Linked DNA regions of Homo sapiens: all the other regions are linked to region 1. The links are contacts of gene promoters, found by promoter capture Hi-C in blood cells and fetal thymus (Javierre and others, 2016). All regions are on one chromosome and are shown on one strand. The core of a region is centred on a gene start or on the middle of the fragment in contact, and the rest is flanking DNA. Distances in the headings are between cores, read along the strand shown.

Region 1 (4,652 bases), core at 1,734-4,233:
ATTCTATCTAATTTAAGGAAACATGTAACAGTTTTGAGTCCAGTAAGATCAGTGAAAGACAAAAATACATTCTATAGTGAATTATAGTGGTACTTACTTTGACTTACTTTGGACATAGAGGATATAAATTCACTAAGACCAGCTGTGTCTCAGGAGGTATATGAAAGTGAGCTTGGTAGTTACACTGGAATCACAGAATTTCATCAGTGTAAGGGATTTTAGAAATGGTTCAGTCCCTGCCACCCATCAACCACCCATCTTAGAGATGAGCAAAATGAGGCACAGAAATCTGCAGAGTTGGTCCTAGAAACAAACCATGGTTCTCAGGCCGGTGCTCCTTCCCCAGTATTAGACTTCTGCAGAGTGGCAGCCTGATATCAAAACAATAAGGCTGTTAAAATCAATAGCTTCAGCTAAGCAATAGCCAATGACTATCAAAAATGGAGACACCAGCTAGTTAAGGGCACTAGCTGGTGCCCAGTCCAAGTGATAGAGGTGCCCAGTCCAAGTGAAGGGCAAGAGTCTACATACCACTTTCCTCTATTCAAGCTATTTATGCCTACTAGGTTTAGAATACTGATTATGAAAGTGGACCCCCGAAGAGGGTCATGGCTGAGATTCAAGGAAGTCTCTAGCCTGCTAACATCGAATGCAAATTGGTGTGTGAGGATACACATTAACAAAAATTTTCTGGGAAGAGCATATAAAATTTCCATTAGATTCTCAAGGAGGTAGGAATAAAGGATTTTAGTAACTATTACTCTAAAATGAAAGAATTCCTTTAAATTGAATGGCAGATCTTAGTCATGACCTGAAAAGCTGATAAAAAAAAACTTTTCAAAAGTTAAAACCTAGGGCTTTTTGGGGTAGATTTTTTGATTTATAGAGGACTGGTAAGATGAGGTATTTAAAGATGAGGGTTACAAATTTTCCATGTTGGCATATGGAAAGTAAAGAATGGCAAAATTTGTAGCACATTCTAATTAGTTCAAATATCTATGTTACCAAAATTGAAATGATATCAAATTGCACAGCAATGTCCTGATGGCCTTTCCTCTAACTTTCTGGGTTTGTAAGGGTAGGGTTGTGCCTATCCTGCTCACCTTTGTCTCTCCAGTGTCTAGCATAGCGTCCAGCACAGGCAGACTATGATGCCTGTTTTTTTTTTGTTGTTGTTTTTTTTTTTTTTTTTTTGGTAAAGACCAGTGAATTACACTTTTTACACATGACTAGGTTAAAACAAAAGTAGACATTTGTGCAAACACCACTGTTCTCCCTTGAAGTGGTTGTAGGTCTCAGACAGTGCTAATTTTTCTCTTTCTTAATGTGTGTGGTTAGGAAGCTGGGTCCTGTGGCCAGAGTGAGCTGACCCACTATGTGAGGAAACTTACTTATCACAGCCTAATAAGGAGTAGTCCTTGCAGCAGAAGTAATTACTAAATGTGCTTTGGTCATTTGACAGAAATCAGGGAGGCAGCAAGGAGTCATGGAAATGAGCCCAAACTGAGAGTCAAAACCCTGTGGTCTGCCGACACCCCCATCCCACATCCGTACCTAAAAGCAGGCTGTGCACTAGGGACCTAGTGACCTTACTAGAAAAAACTCAAATTCTCTGAGCCACAAGTCCTCATGGGCAAAATGTAGATACCACCACCTAACCCTGCCAATTTCCTATCATTGTGACTATCAAATTAAACCACAGGCAGGAAGTTGCCTTGAAAACTTTTTATAGTGTATATTACTGTTCACATAGATAAGCAATTAACTTTACATATACCCGTTTTTAAAAGATCAGTCCTGTGATTAAAAGTCTGGCTGCCCTAATTCACTTCGATTATACATTAGGTTAAAGCCATATAAAAGAGGCACTACGTCTTCGGAGAGATGAATGGATATTACAAGCAGTAATTTTGGCTTTGGAATATACACATAATGTCCACTTGACCTCATCTATTTGACACAAAATGTAAACTAAATTATGAGCATCATTAGATACCTTGGCCTTTTCAAATCACACAGGGTCCTAGATCTGCTGTGTGATGCTGGAAAAGTAACTTCACTTCTGTGGGCCTCAGCTCCTTAATTTTTAACATACTTTGGATTCTTATATCTTTGTCAGCTGTCAACTTCAGTGTTTTCAGGTTAAATTCTATCCATAGTCATCCCAATATACCTGCTTTAGATGATACAAACTTCAAAAGATCCGGCTCTCCCTCGTAAAACGTGGAGGACAGACATCAAGGGGGTTTTGTGAGTAAAGAAAGGCAACCGCTCGGCAAAAACGCACCCTGGCACAACAGGAGCGAATAAATACAGACGCTGATTGAGCGTTTGCTCCATCTTCACTTCTGTTAAATGAAGACATTGATATCTAAAATGCTATGAGTCTAACTTTGTAAAATTAAAATAGATTTGTAGTTATTTTTCAAAATGAAATCGAAAAGATACAAGTTTTGAAGGCAGTCTCTTTTTCCACCCTGCCCCTCTAGTGTGTTTTACACACTTCTCTGGCCACTCCAACAGGGAAGCTGGTCCAGGGCCATTATACAGGTACGTCCCCAACCATCCAAGGAAACTTTGCAAAGAAGCTCAAGTATTAGGTTTCGAACACCCCTCCTTCCCCCTGCCTCTGCCCGCGGGAATCCATCCAGCGCAATCTCTGGTCCCGGGCGAGGCGACACCACTGAGTCCCCAGGGGGCACCCGCAGGCGCGCGCGGGACCAGGCCGGGCTCCACGGCCACGTGCGCGCTGCCCCCGCCTTGCCTCGCCAGTTAACCCGGCGGTGACCCTCGCACCGAAGTCCCCCGGCGTCCCTGCCACGTTCAAGAGAGGAAAGGCGGGCGGGAGCGCGAGACTGAAGTCGGCGTACCTGCAGTGCCAGGAGCGTCTCCTTGGTTCCCCGCGCTTGCTCTGCGGGCGGCTCGGGGCTCCGCTATCCGCTCCCTTCCCGAGGCTGCAGGCGGCGCTGGGCCCGGGCTCGGCCGCGCACAGGAAGCCCGCGCCTGCGAACGTGCGACCCTTTTATAACTCACTTGTGACTCATAACCGACCAGGCGCCTTTTCTGCAACCCCCCCCCCCTTCTCCCCCCTCCTGCCTGTTCTTGGAACCTACAGCTTGAAAAACTTTTTTCTTTTTAAAGGAAAAGTCGAAAAAGCCCAGCGCCCGGGTAGTTGGTGTTTTCCCCTTTCCCTTTCTCGTGGGTCATTGCGTGTGTGTATTTTTTTTCTCTCAACACACGCCGTGTACTTTCCTGCACCGCGCCGCAAGGCTTGGGCTCCAACCTTTGTTCTTAAAGAAAAGGAAACGCCTTCAAATGACGGCCCAGACGTCGCCCGAACTTTCAGTCGGCTGGAGGGGGAAGTGGCGACTTCTTGCAACTGGGTGGCAGGAGTGTCTCTACTCTCTCCTTGCAGGGAGCCCGAGAGGAGCAAGTGGGAGGTTTTTCCTCCTGGACCGAATCAGCTGGAGACCAGCAGGTCCCTAAGAGAGGAAGAAATGGTCTTCAGGCGATCCTGGATTTCATCCCTACCTCATCACCCTTCAAGAGCCCGCGTTTGGTTTGGAATACGTAACTGGGCTTTGAGAACGTTTGTACTGTGTCTGGTACCCGCATTTATACTCGGGATGTCAAGATATAGGACTTAAAACTTCAAAAATTTTGACCTCAACAACATTCTCCCCCTGCCCTCCACTCCCATCTCCAGGACATATTCCTGGAGCATATGGGACTTCGGTCGTTTTAATTTTTGGTTTTGTCGCTTCTCTCTTTTCTCCCGGACCCTGCCACAAGGGGAACATTTTCCTGGAGCAGCCATTTGATTTTGGGGGATGGAAAGGAACAAATAGATCTAAAGCCTGGCAAGTTTATCCTACAAGCCTAGTCGAGTAACTCATTCATGGGTCTCAGTTCAATAAACGTTTAGACTTGAAGAAGAATAAGGAAATATGGGGAAGAGAAGGAGGACAGGAATAGATCTAGCCTCATCAACATGTGACTGGGGCCTTTTTGTAAGAAAGACGGGGCCACTGCTGGATTGCATTGCAAGTATCCAGTACTTGGACCTCCCTGTCAAGGGCACAAGACATTTTAGAATAGTTTGTATTAAACTGATGCCAGTTACATGTCAGAATACATGTCAGAGCTGGAAATCCCATAGTACTTAATTTACAGATGGCTCAGGTTGGTTAAGGAACTTGGGAGCATTTTAAAACCCTCTATTCTTAAGATACATGCTTTTTCTCTTATAATTCAAACAAGAATAATCATGATGATAACAACTAACACTTATAAAGCATTTACCATGTGCCAGATCCTGTCCTAACACTCCTTATATGCATTAACTCTTTCAGTCCTCACTATGATCATATGAGGGAGGAGCATTATAATCTCTATTTCCAGATGAGGAAACTGAGCACAGAGAGATTAAACATGTTACCTTAGATCCTAGTAAGTAGTCAAGCTGAGATTCAAACTCAGTTCCAACCCTGGAGGGCTGGCTCCGTAGTCCAGTCTCCCTGCTTTCCAGATCCATGTGACGTTGAGGAGCTGGGGAAGTTGTGCAGTGGGGCATGTGGCAAGGATGCATGGTCCCCACCCAGGTGGGGCACGTCCCTCTGCTGGTTACAGATGCCTACAATGCCTTTCTGAAT
Region 2 (4,358 bases), core at 12-2,511, 3.5 Mb before region 1:
TTTACAGAACACTGAGCTATTTCTTTCAATAAATAGGTACTGAAGGAACTGCAGTGAAAGACAAAAGTCCCATTTGTCGTAGAGTTTATGTCCTTCTAAGGCAGAAATAATGATTAAATAAAAGGAGAATTCCAAATAATGATGAAAGAAACTGCACTATAGTAGAGGATGACAGGAGGTAAAAATGTCTGTAAAAGAAGGATCAGGAATAGACAGAACACTTAGACGTTTAGGGAAGAACTCTTAGCTCAGTGCTTAGTGAGAGAAGCCCCTGAGCCTGGGCTGTTTCCCCCGACCTCTTACTTAGGGGGAAATGCCAGGCTCAGGGACTAACTAGTACAAAGACCCTGAGGAAGGAATGATTTTGACCTGTTTTTTTTTTAAAACAACAACAACAACAACAGGTTGTAGGGCTGAAGCTTACCAAAGAAAGGAAGAATGGTAAGTTCAGAGGAGGAGCCATACAAGGGCCGGGATACGTAGGGCCTTGTTTCCTTGAAAAGGGATTTGCATTTTATCCTAAGCTGGTTGGGAAACCATTGAAGGGTCTTAAGTATGGGAATGAGGGGATCTGATCAAATGGTAGTTTCTCACAGAATGGGGAGTGAGGGGAAGAAGCAAGAGTGTAAGCCAGGAGTTCAGACTTAAGTGTTATTGCTGGAATAACAGTTCTTATTGCTGAAGATGCTTTTAAAGCAGTGGCTATTGGCAGGGGTTGGTGGCTCACACCTGTAATCCCAACACTGGGGAGGCCGAGGTCAGTGGATCACTTGAGGCCAGGAGTTCCTGGCCAACATGGTGAAACTCCGCCTCTCAAAAAAATACAAAAAAAACCAACCTGGTGTGGCGCGCACCTCTAATCCCAGCTACTCAGGAGGCTGAGCCTCCAGAATTGCTTGAACCCGGGAGGCCCAGGTTGCAGTGAGCTGAGATCGTGCCACGATCTCAGCTCACTGCACTCCAGCCTGAGCGATAGAGGAGACTCTCTCTCTCTCAAAAAAGAGTAATGGCTATTAACCTTGGTTTTGGATCACAAAATCATGGCTTGTATTGTAAAGCAGTACTATGTAAATAGAACTTTTTGCAGTGCTGGACATACGCTGTATCAGCGCTGTCCAGTGTGATATTCACTACCCACATGTAGCTACTGGGCATTTGAACTGTGGCTCCTGCAATTGAGGAACTGAATTTTTTAATTTTAATTACTTGAAAGTTTATTTTGATTGCTTTCACTAGCCCCATGTATGTAGCTAGTGGCTACTGTATTGGGCAGCGCTTCTCTAAAGAAATGTTCTCATGCACAGTAGATTAGTGAAATATATCTGAGGACCCAAGTAAACCTCAACTCTAAAAAAGTCCAGTGTAGAATTTGTGAGAATTTTTAGTACCGTGAGCAGTTCGCTTTTCAATACATATACATTGGGATAATGTTGCAATTCAAAAAAAGTATTCAGTCTCTAAACACTTCAGTGGCACATACTTAAAGAACTTCTGGCTTTACAAAAGCCCAGATTCTAACACAATAAGAATATTCCACATTTCAACAGTTAGTTAGAAAATACTGATAAATTCTGGAAAGGTATTCTACTTGAAGTACCTCATACCCTTTCTCTAATTAGTCTTAGCATGGTTCCCTGTACTTTTCACTACTTTTAATAAAAAAAATTTTAAGTCTTTTGATGTGTAAGTAGGTACCTGCGGTCCCCCAAAATGTTATACTTTATTCATTCAACTAGAGAGGAAATGTATGCATCATTTATGAATATCAAATGCTGTGTTTTACATTAAAAAATCTTGTTTGATTGTCTCAACAATCCTATGAGTTAGGTACTATTATAATTACTTCATTTTATAATGAAGAAATGTTAAGAAAATTGCCCAAATTTAAAAAGAGCCAGAAAGCTAAGATTTGCAACCAGCCCTCTTGTGCCAAATACCTAAGCTATGCTCCCTCTTTATTAGAGGCAAGATATAAGCAAAGATATCTTGTATTTGAAATTTTTGTTTCACTGTCCTGTCTAATTAGCGGGGTTTTTTGTTTGTTTTTTTTAACAGCACTTTTCAGGATTAGAAGAGGCTGTGTATAGAAACATACAAGCTTGCAAGGAGCTTGCCCAAACCACTCGTACAGCATATGGACCAAATGGTAATTTCTAAATTAATATTTGTAAAGATACAGTAGTAGAATATTGTGTACTACGTCTTCTTTCAGACTTGTTCTGAGGATGTTATGGTATGACTTCGGAAGTTAATTTGATAGCTCAATGATAGTTCATTTCCAATTTTTAGTTATTTCTAATTTTCAATCAACTCACATCTCTTTAGAAAAATGGGGGTCAATATATTACTTTTTATCCTGTTGAGAGGATAGAAAAATTATAACACTTTGACTAGTAAGATAGTACCTAATGTTCATTCTGACAAACACTAAATATAAAAGTGACATAGTTTAAGGAAGAAAATTCTCTCCTTCCTCTTGCCTTCTACCACCAATTAAATTTAAATGATACAGTTTCATGGAATAAACATACAACTAAATATACTAAGTAGATTATTTTGGCCTTTTTACATGTTAATTTCTGTTGAGCACTTGCTGCATGACAGTCATGTTGCAAACAGAAGATAGAAATTGGCAAAAATGTGAGATTTGGCATCTTACGTAGTAAATATTGTAGGACATTAGAAAGGGAAGAAAGAATATGGGTCTGCAGTCAGAGAATGCCCATGGGGCTATAAGATAAACTTGAAGAATAGATAGTATGTGTTTTCTTGCAAAGCTCTTTTTTTAATATACAAATTTATAATTTCTTAACTAGATTTTCCTGGGTATTTGGGGAAGGATTTGATTAATAATGGCTTTCTTTTTCTTTTTTTAACTGTTACTTTTGAGGAATGAACAAAATGGTTATCAACCACTTGGAGAAGTTGTTTGTGACAAACGATGCAGCAACTATTTTAAGAGAACTAGAAGTAAGTTGTTTCTTTAAAAAGTCAAGAAATATTTTGGTGACATCAAAATTAAGTAGATTTTAACTAGAAGAAATCTCTTATTTCAGATTGGATAAGGGACTATTTTTCCAGCTTGAAAATTTATTGTACAGATTGTTCTAATTATAAAGAGTCCTCTTTAGATTGAATGTTTTAGCCACTGAAATCTTAAAAATCTCTCAAGTTATTAATTTATGGAGGGATTGGTTGTGATACATTGCTAATTACGATATGAAATTGATTACCATTGTCTTCATTCTATAGGGTGACTCTGAAGTGAATTATTCCACAGTGCAAAAACGTATACATATAACAGTGGTTTTTAAAAAGATCCAACCATTTGGTTTTGTGAAAATAAAAACAATCAGTTGATGGCATTTTACTTTGTTCAGCTTTAGTTTTACTATTAGAATCTATAAAATAGATACTGCCTGCCAGCAGGGTTATAAGGAAGGTCTGGCACCTGAACAGGCAGAGAGAGCCATTCCTCATTCCCGCCTTGTAATTAAAGGATAACATATTCAACCTCAGGGAATTTTCCTGAAGCTTAGCCCTTGAAAGCACTAGAACTTAATCTTTTGTTTTAAATGAAACGATAGAAGAATCAACATTTTTCTAACCTCTTAAATAATATATTTTTGGTTGGACGCGGTGGCTCACGCCTGTAATCCCACCACTTTGGGAGGTCAAGGCAGGCGGATCACCTAAGGTCAGGAGTTTGAGACTAGCCTGGCCAACATGGTGAAACCCCATCTCTACTAAAAATACAGAAACAAAATCAGCCGGGCGTGGTGGCACACACCTGTAGTTCCAGCTACTCAGTAGGCTAGGGCAGGAGAATTGCTTGAACCTGGGAGGCGGAGGTTGCAATGAGCCAAGATCGCGCCACTGCACTCCAGCCTGGGCGACAGAGCAAGACTCCATCTCAAAAAAGAAAAAAAAATACATATTATATATATAAATTCTTAAAGAACTTAAGTTAAAAGTTAAATTTTAACTCCACAAAACACTTGTACAAGGGTTTGTCACTGTGAATGTTAATGTTGCACACTGATGATCTCAGGAGTTATTAAAGTACAGTGGTGATACCGTCAAAATAATAAAATCACAGGGCTGACTTTTTATAGTTTTCTTGTTGCTCTCAGTTCTTACTCCTTGGCTTGTTTCTGTAAAGGTATCTAAAATTAAATCCTAAGAATAAAATCCACATAAAATTATGTTATATTTGAAGAAAAGTTTTATACTCCCCCTTTTCTTTAAATCACAAATGATAACCCTTACAACAAGAATATATAGTAAAATAGATATTGAGAGTCATGACCAAGTTAAGTGGTATCTATTTTAGTTCTCCTGAAGGCTTTTAAAAAATA
Region 3 (4,629 bases), core at 1,970-4,469, 3.7 Mb before region 1:
ACTCACCGGGAGCCTTTCTTCCCTAAGCTTCTTCAAGATGTCCAAAGGCAGAAGTGGCAAGTGCCTTCAAGCCCAGCCCAGCCCTTGCACCACTACCCAAAGACCAGGAAGAAGCAAGCCGACCTCTTCCCATTTCTCTGCTTGACTATGTGAAGCGCTCAAGTGCTCTGCCACTAACACATCTGGGATTTCCACCCTTTATCCTTCTGAACTGCATTCAATGCAGACCCTCTGATGTAAAGGGTGTTCAAATACATGATCAAATTCCCATAGCATCATCCATGGGTAACAGTCCCTACCCCTACACAATTCTCCAAAAAGCAAAGCATCCTACAAAACATTCTTTGTTCCTCCAAGCATGACATTGTAGCTCGTTTTCCTCATACACGTTCTTTCACAATTACTACTACACTTTACCTGGAATCAGCACAAGTTTAACGCAGAAGCCTCACTCCATAAAAGCATTCCGCACAATTCTACTCAATGACATGAAACTGCCGTGTAAGAATGAGAAAGCAACGGCACTCGTGTTACATTACACGAGCACAAAGCTGGTGTCTCCAGAATCAACGCCCACTCTCACCATATTGTGCGAGGCTTAATTACAACGCGTGGGCAAAACTCCAACAAAGGGAGTCCTGGGCTCTCCGGTCCCCAAAACCAGTCTTCGCTAAATCCAGCTCAGCACGGTGGCCTTCTCTCCCCAGCCACAAACTCGGCTTTTCTTACGCGATTCCACGCGCGACAGCCACCGGGCTGAGTAGACGCGAGGCTGGGCATGCGGTGGGAGGCGGCGGAGGACAATACGGGGCCCCAGCCGCGAGGGCGGTGCTGATGTGTCACAGCCCGGGCGGGCCGCGGGCGAGGGGCCGGGCTGGCGCCCGAGGGCAGGGAGGGGGGTGGGGCAGGGACCCCGCGGCCCCCAGCCCCCGCCCGCCCCGGGTAAAGTACGGCGCGCGCGGGTAAACAACAGCTCCGGCAGTGCAGGGGGTTCGGCCGCCGACGGGACGCCCCTTCCGGCGTCGCGGCCACTTCCAGGATCCCGGCCGCCGGCGCCCCCCGCGGGCCCCGATACGTGCCCCCCGCGCCCCGCCCAGCCCAGAAAGAGCCGCCCCCGGCCCGCCCGCGCCTTCACTGGACCTGTCCGCCGGCCTCCCCTCACAGGCCCGCGGCCCTGACCGCGCCAACCCTCCCGGAGAAGGGCCGGCGGGACGGCCGAGCCACTCACCAGAGCTGAGGCGCGGCGCGGCCCGACTGACTGAAGCGAGAGCGCCCGGCGGGCGGCGAGGGCAGCGGTCAGGTGACTCACTCCTTCCGCGCGGCCAGCCGCCCCCTCCCTTCTGCGCCGCTCTGCTGCCGCCACCTCGCGGCGCCAAAACCCCGCCCGCCCGCTGAAGGCCCCGCCCCCGGCGCCGAAGCCCCGCCCTGCCGCCCTCGAAGCCTCTGTCAGCGAACGAGCGCGCGCAATAGCGCGGGGCAGGGGTCGCCGCGGCCGGAAGCCCACGCGGGGGGTTGCAGGGACGGGTCGTAAGGGGCGGGGCGGGCCTCGAGGAGGCGGCGGTGGGGTCCCCGGACCTCCGCGCGTGGCACAGCCCGCATCCTGAACTGACTCCCACTCGAGGACCACCTCTCCTCTCCCTTCTGAGGGCGGAACGGAAAGGCCAAGCGCCTCCTCGCCTCGGGAGCTGCAGGACGCCCTAATTCAGCCGAGTCGCCGCGTGCCCGGGTGCCCGCGAACAGCAGGAGAGAGGACGGGCGCTGGCCCCACAGGGGTCGCTTTACCCCTTGAAGAGCTCCTCGCTGCCTGCCCTGGGGGTGGTGGGCGTCCAGGTTCACAGGGTACTTGAGCTTGCTGGGGTGGGGGTGTGTATGAAGTGCGTCCAGGGTTTTGTGGAGCGCGTCTAGCAGTTGCTCTACTTCTTACTGACAGTGAAACAAGGGCGCCCACGACAGGTGTTCCCTTTTCGCTGTCGCTGCCAGGAAGCTTCCAGCCAGGTTCAGCGCCCAGTGGTGTCAGCCGGCCCATCTCGAGCCTTGGTTCCGCTGTCATCTTCTGGTGCTTATTCTGGTGTTTATCCAACTGTCCGTTTTGAAATTATGTTCCCAAGCCATTTAACACCTCTGGAGAACCAAAGCACTGGCTGTCAGCGGAGCGGGATGCACGCGCAGCGGAGGGGACTGGGCACGCCAACCCCACGAGGGTTCCTGCGGAGATGACACGGACCTTGAGGTCTGAAGCCAAAGGACGATTTGTGTGAAGGGATTTTATTGTTAGCTTTGGAGCCAGCAACAAGAACACAGCCCTGGAGTTCCCGGGGCAAAAAGGATACCAAGATAATAATTCAGGTATTACGACTAACATGACTGCATTTGCACCCACAGGCTGTGGGACTTGGGGACGTTTGAGCTACATCCAAAATACATGAGAAAATCACACAAGTGAAATTGGATGAGAGTGCGAGGGGTGAAGTGATACATTATGACCTAGAATTAGGGGAGGCTTCCTGGAGCAGGTGACATTTGCATTGGGTCTTGATTGGGAAGAGTGGAACCCAGCAGTCTAGATAGGGTCCAGAGGTAGGAGGTACCTCGCATCCCAGGCTGCCTCAGTTCATGGTGAGAGTGCAGATATTTAGTGAAACAGGAGGAAAGGACACTTGGAAATACACCATGAAAGAAGGATTGAAGTTCTTGCAGACACATGGGAGTGTCCGAGGCTTTATTCTCCTTCCACCTTGAGCCAGTGGAATTGCAGTGTCTTTTTTCTACACCTATGCAGTTTTTTCTACACCTGTGCAGTTTTTTCTAGGGGAAGATCAGACCCTCCTCTTTGGGAGGAACTCTTGCTTCTTTAGATAATAGCAGTGACATTTTCTAGCCTGAAAATTATGATGTATGCCCTGATAGGTTTAATTATTTGAGAAGTTCTCACAAAGGTATACAGATGTGCTAAGAGTATCAAGTCAAGTGAGTGACTCTCAAGCTTCATTATGGGGAAGAATATTTGGTTTGCTTGTTAAAATGCAGATTCCGGCCGGGAGCAGTGGCTCATGCCTGTAATCCCAGCACTTTCAAAGGCCAAGGCGGGCGGATCACGAGGTCAGGAGATCGACATGGTGAAACCCCGTTTCTACTAAACCCCAACATGGTGAAACCCCGTTTCTACTAAAATACAAAAAATTAGCCAGGCATGATGGTGTGCGCCTGTAGTCCCAGCCGCTCAGGAGGCTGACACAGGGGAATCGCTTGAACCTGGGCGGTGGAGGTTGCAGTGAGCTGAGATCGCGCCACTGCACTCCAGCCTGGCGACAGAGCAAAACTCTATCTCAAAAAAAAAAAAAAAAAAAAAAATGCAGATTCCTGGGTCCCACCCCCAAAAGATGCTAATTTTGTAGATCTGAGTAGGACCTAAGGGTCTGCATTTTTAATACTGAAGCATGTGGTCTTCAAGCTTATGGCATGTAGTAGGGACAGGACGAAAAATGAAACTGGAGAATGAAATGAAACCGAGTCAGTATGAGAAGGGCCTCATGCACAGCACCTGGAGTTTGGACTTCATCCCGTGGTCTGCAATAAGTGAGTAGAGGTTTCTAAGTCATGTGGTTATTTTTAAAAGCTAATTCTAGTATTGAGAAGGAATGGGAGTGGAAACAGATAGTAGGTTGAATGAAGGAATGAATGCAGTAAAATGCTCAGTGAAAGATGTGGCACTTTTTGTTTTCAGTATTCTCTTGCTTTGAACCAAAACCACTTAGAATGTATTTCTTTTAAAACCTGTATGTCAGTGTAAATATTCACAAACAACTGTATGTTCTGACCTATGTCTTCTGGACTTCCAGAGTTAGCATTAACATTATTAGCTGCCAGGCCAACAAAACCTTGAGTAATCCTGCAATACTCGGAATCAAGAAAAGTGGCTACATCATGGTCAACTTTGAAGAACATCAGCCTCAAGATCTTTTATACTAACTCATATGTTTATTAAAATCTATTACTAAAACAGATTTTTAAAAATTATCTTGAGGTTATAATGAGACATAGTGCTTCTACCTAATTCCTATTGGGAAAAAAAAATGTTGAGATTTGGGGACCAAGAAAAAAAATTCTGATCGCTTTTTTTTTTTTTTTTTTTGAGATGGTGTCTCTCTCTGTCACGCAGGCTTGGAGTGCAGTGGCATGATTTTGTCTCACTGCAACCTCTGCCTCCCGGGTTCAAGTGATTCTCCTGCCCCAGCCTCCTGAGTAGCTGGAATTTCAGGCACCCACCACCAAGCCCAGCTAATTTTTGTATTTTTAGTAGAGACAAGGTTTCACCATGTTGGCCAGGCTGATCTCAAACTCCTGACCTCAAATGATCCACCTGCCTTGGCCTCCCAGAGTGCTGGGACTACAGGCATGAGCCACCGCTCCCAGCTGATTGCTTTCAATTAGTATTGATAATAGTTTGAAACTGGGACAAGTAGCCTAGTCTTGGCAGTCTTTCTGCTCCTTAGCTCAGCTAGGTCCAAGTTCTTGTCTCACAACCAGGAAAAACTAGGCACACAGACACCGGAAAGTGAGTGGAGTGGAATTGATTAAGCAAAAGGAAAGCTCTCAGCAAAGAGCGAATGCTGGGAGCAGTTCCCCTAC

What was found. Contacts are between HindIII fragments. The CHiCAGO score rates a contact against its expected background, and 5 or more counts as called.
Region 2: a fragment that was not itself captured here is called in contact with the fragment with the promoter of MIR155HG in region 1 in 1 of 17 cell types (non-activated CD4 T cells); the score reaches 8.5 in non-activated CD4 T cells.
Region 3: a fragment that was not itself captured here is called in contact with the fragment with the promoter of MIR155HG in region 1 in 1 of 17 cell types (activated CD4 T cells); the score reaches 5.5 in activated CD4 T cells.

What each region holds. Positions count from the first base shown.
Region 1 is chr21:25,560,476-25,565,127 of GRCh38, reverse strand. It overlaps MIR155HG (MIR155 host gene), which reads right to left and starts at 2,983. Exons shown (of 3, transcript NR_001458.3): 1 at 2,871-2,983. RefSeq lists enhancers at 177-256, 3,399-3,448 and silencers at 2,639-2,918, 2,929-3,018. The HindIII fragment of the contact is 13,141 bases long and covers 1-4,652 here.
Region 2 is chr21:29,068,035-29,072,392 of GRCh38, reverse strand. CCT8 (chaperonin containing TCP1 subunit 8) reads left to right here. Exons shown (of 15, transcript NM_006585.4): 2 at 2,056-2,146; 3 at 2,891-2,970. Among named protein-coding and RNA genes, the nearest start is that of CCT8, 3.4 kb to the left of the region's middle. The HindIII fragment of the contact is 1,679 bases long and covers 422-2,100 here.
Region 3 is chr21:29,295,553-29,300,181 of GRCh38, reverse strand. It overlaps LOC105369299 (a long non-coding RNA gene), which reads left to right and starts at 1,446. Exons shown (of 2, transcript XR_937652.3): 1 at 1,446-3,576; 2 at 3,840-4,004. BACH1 (BTB domain and CNC homolog 1) reads right to left here and starts at 1,260. Exons shown (of 5, transcript NM_001186.4): 1 at 1,229-1,260. RefSeq lists a silencer at 826-1,735. The HindIII fragment of the contact is 468 bases long and covers 2,986-3,453 here.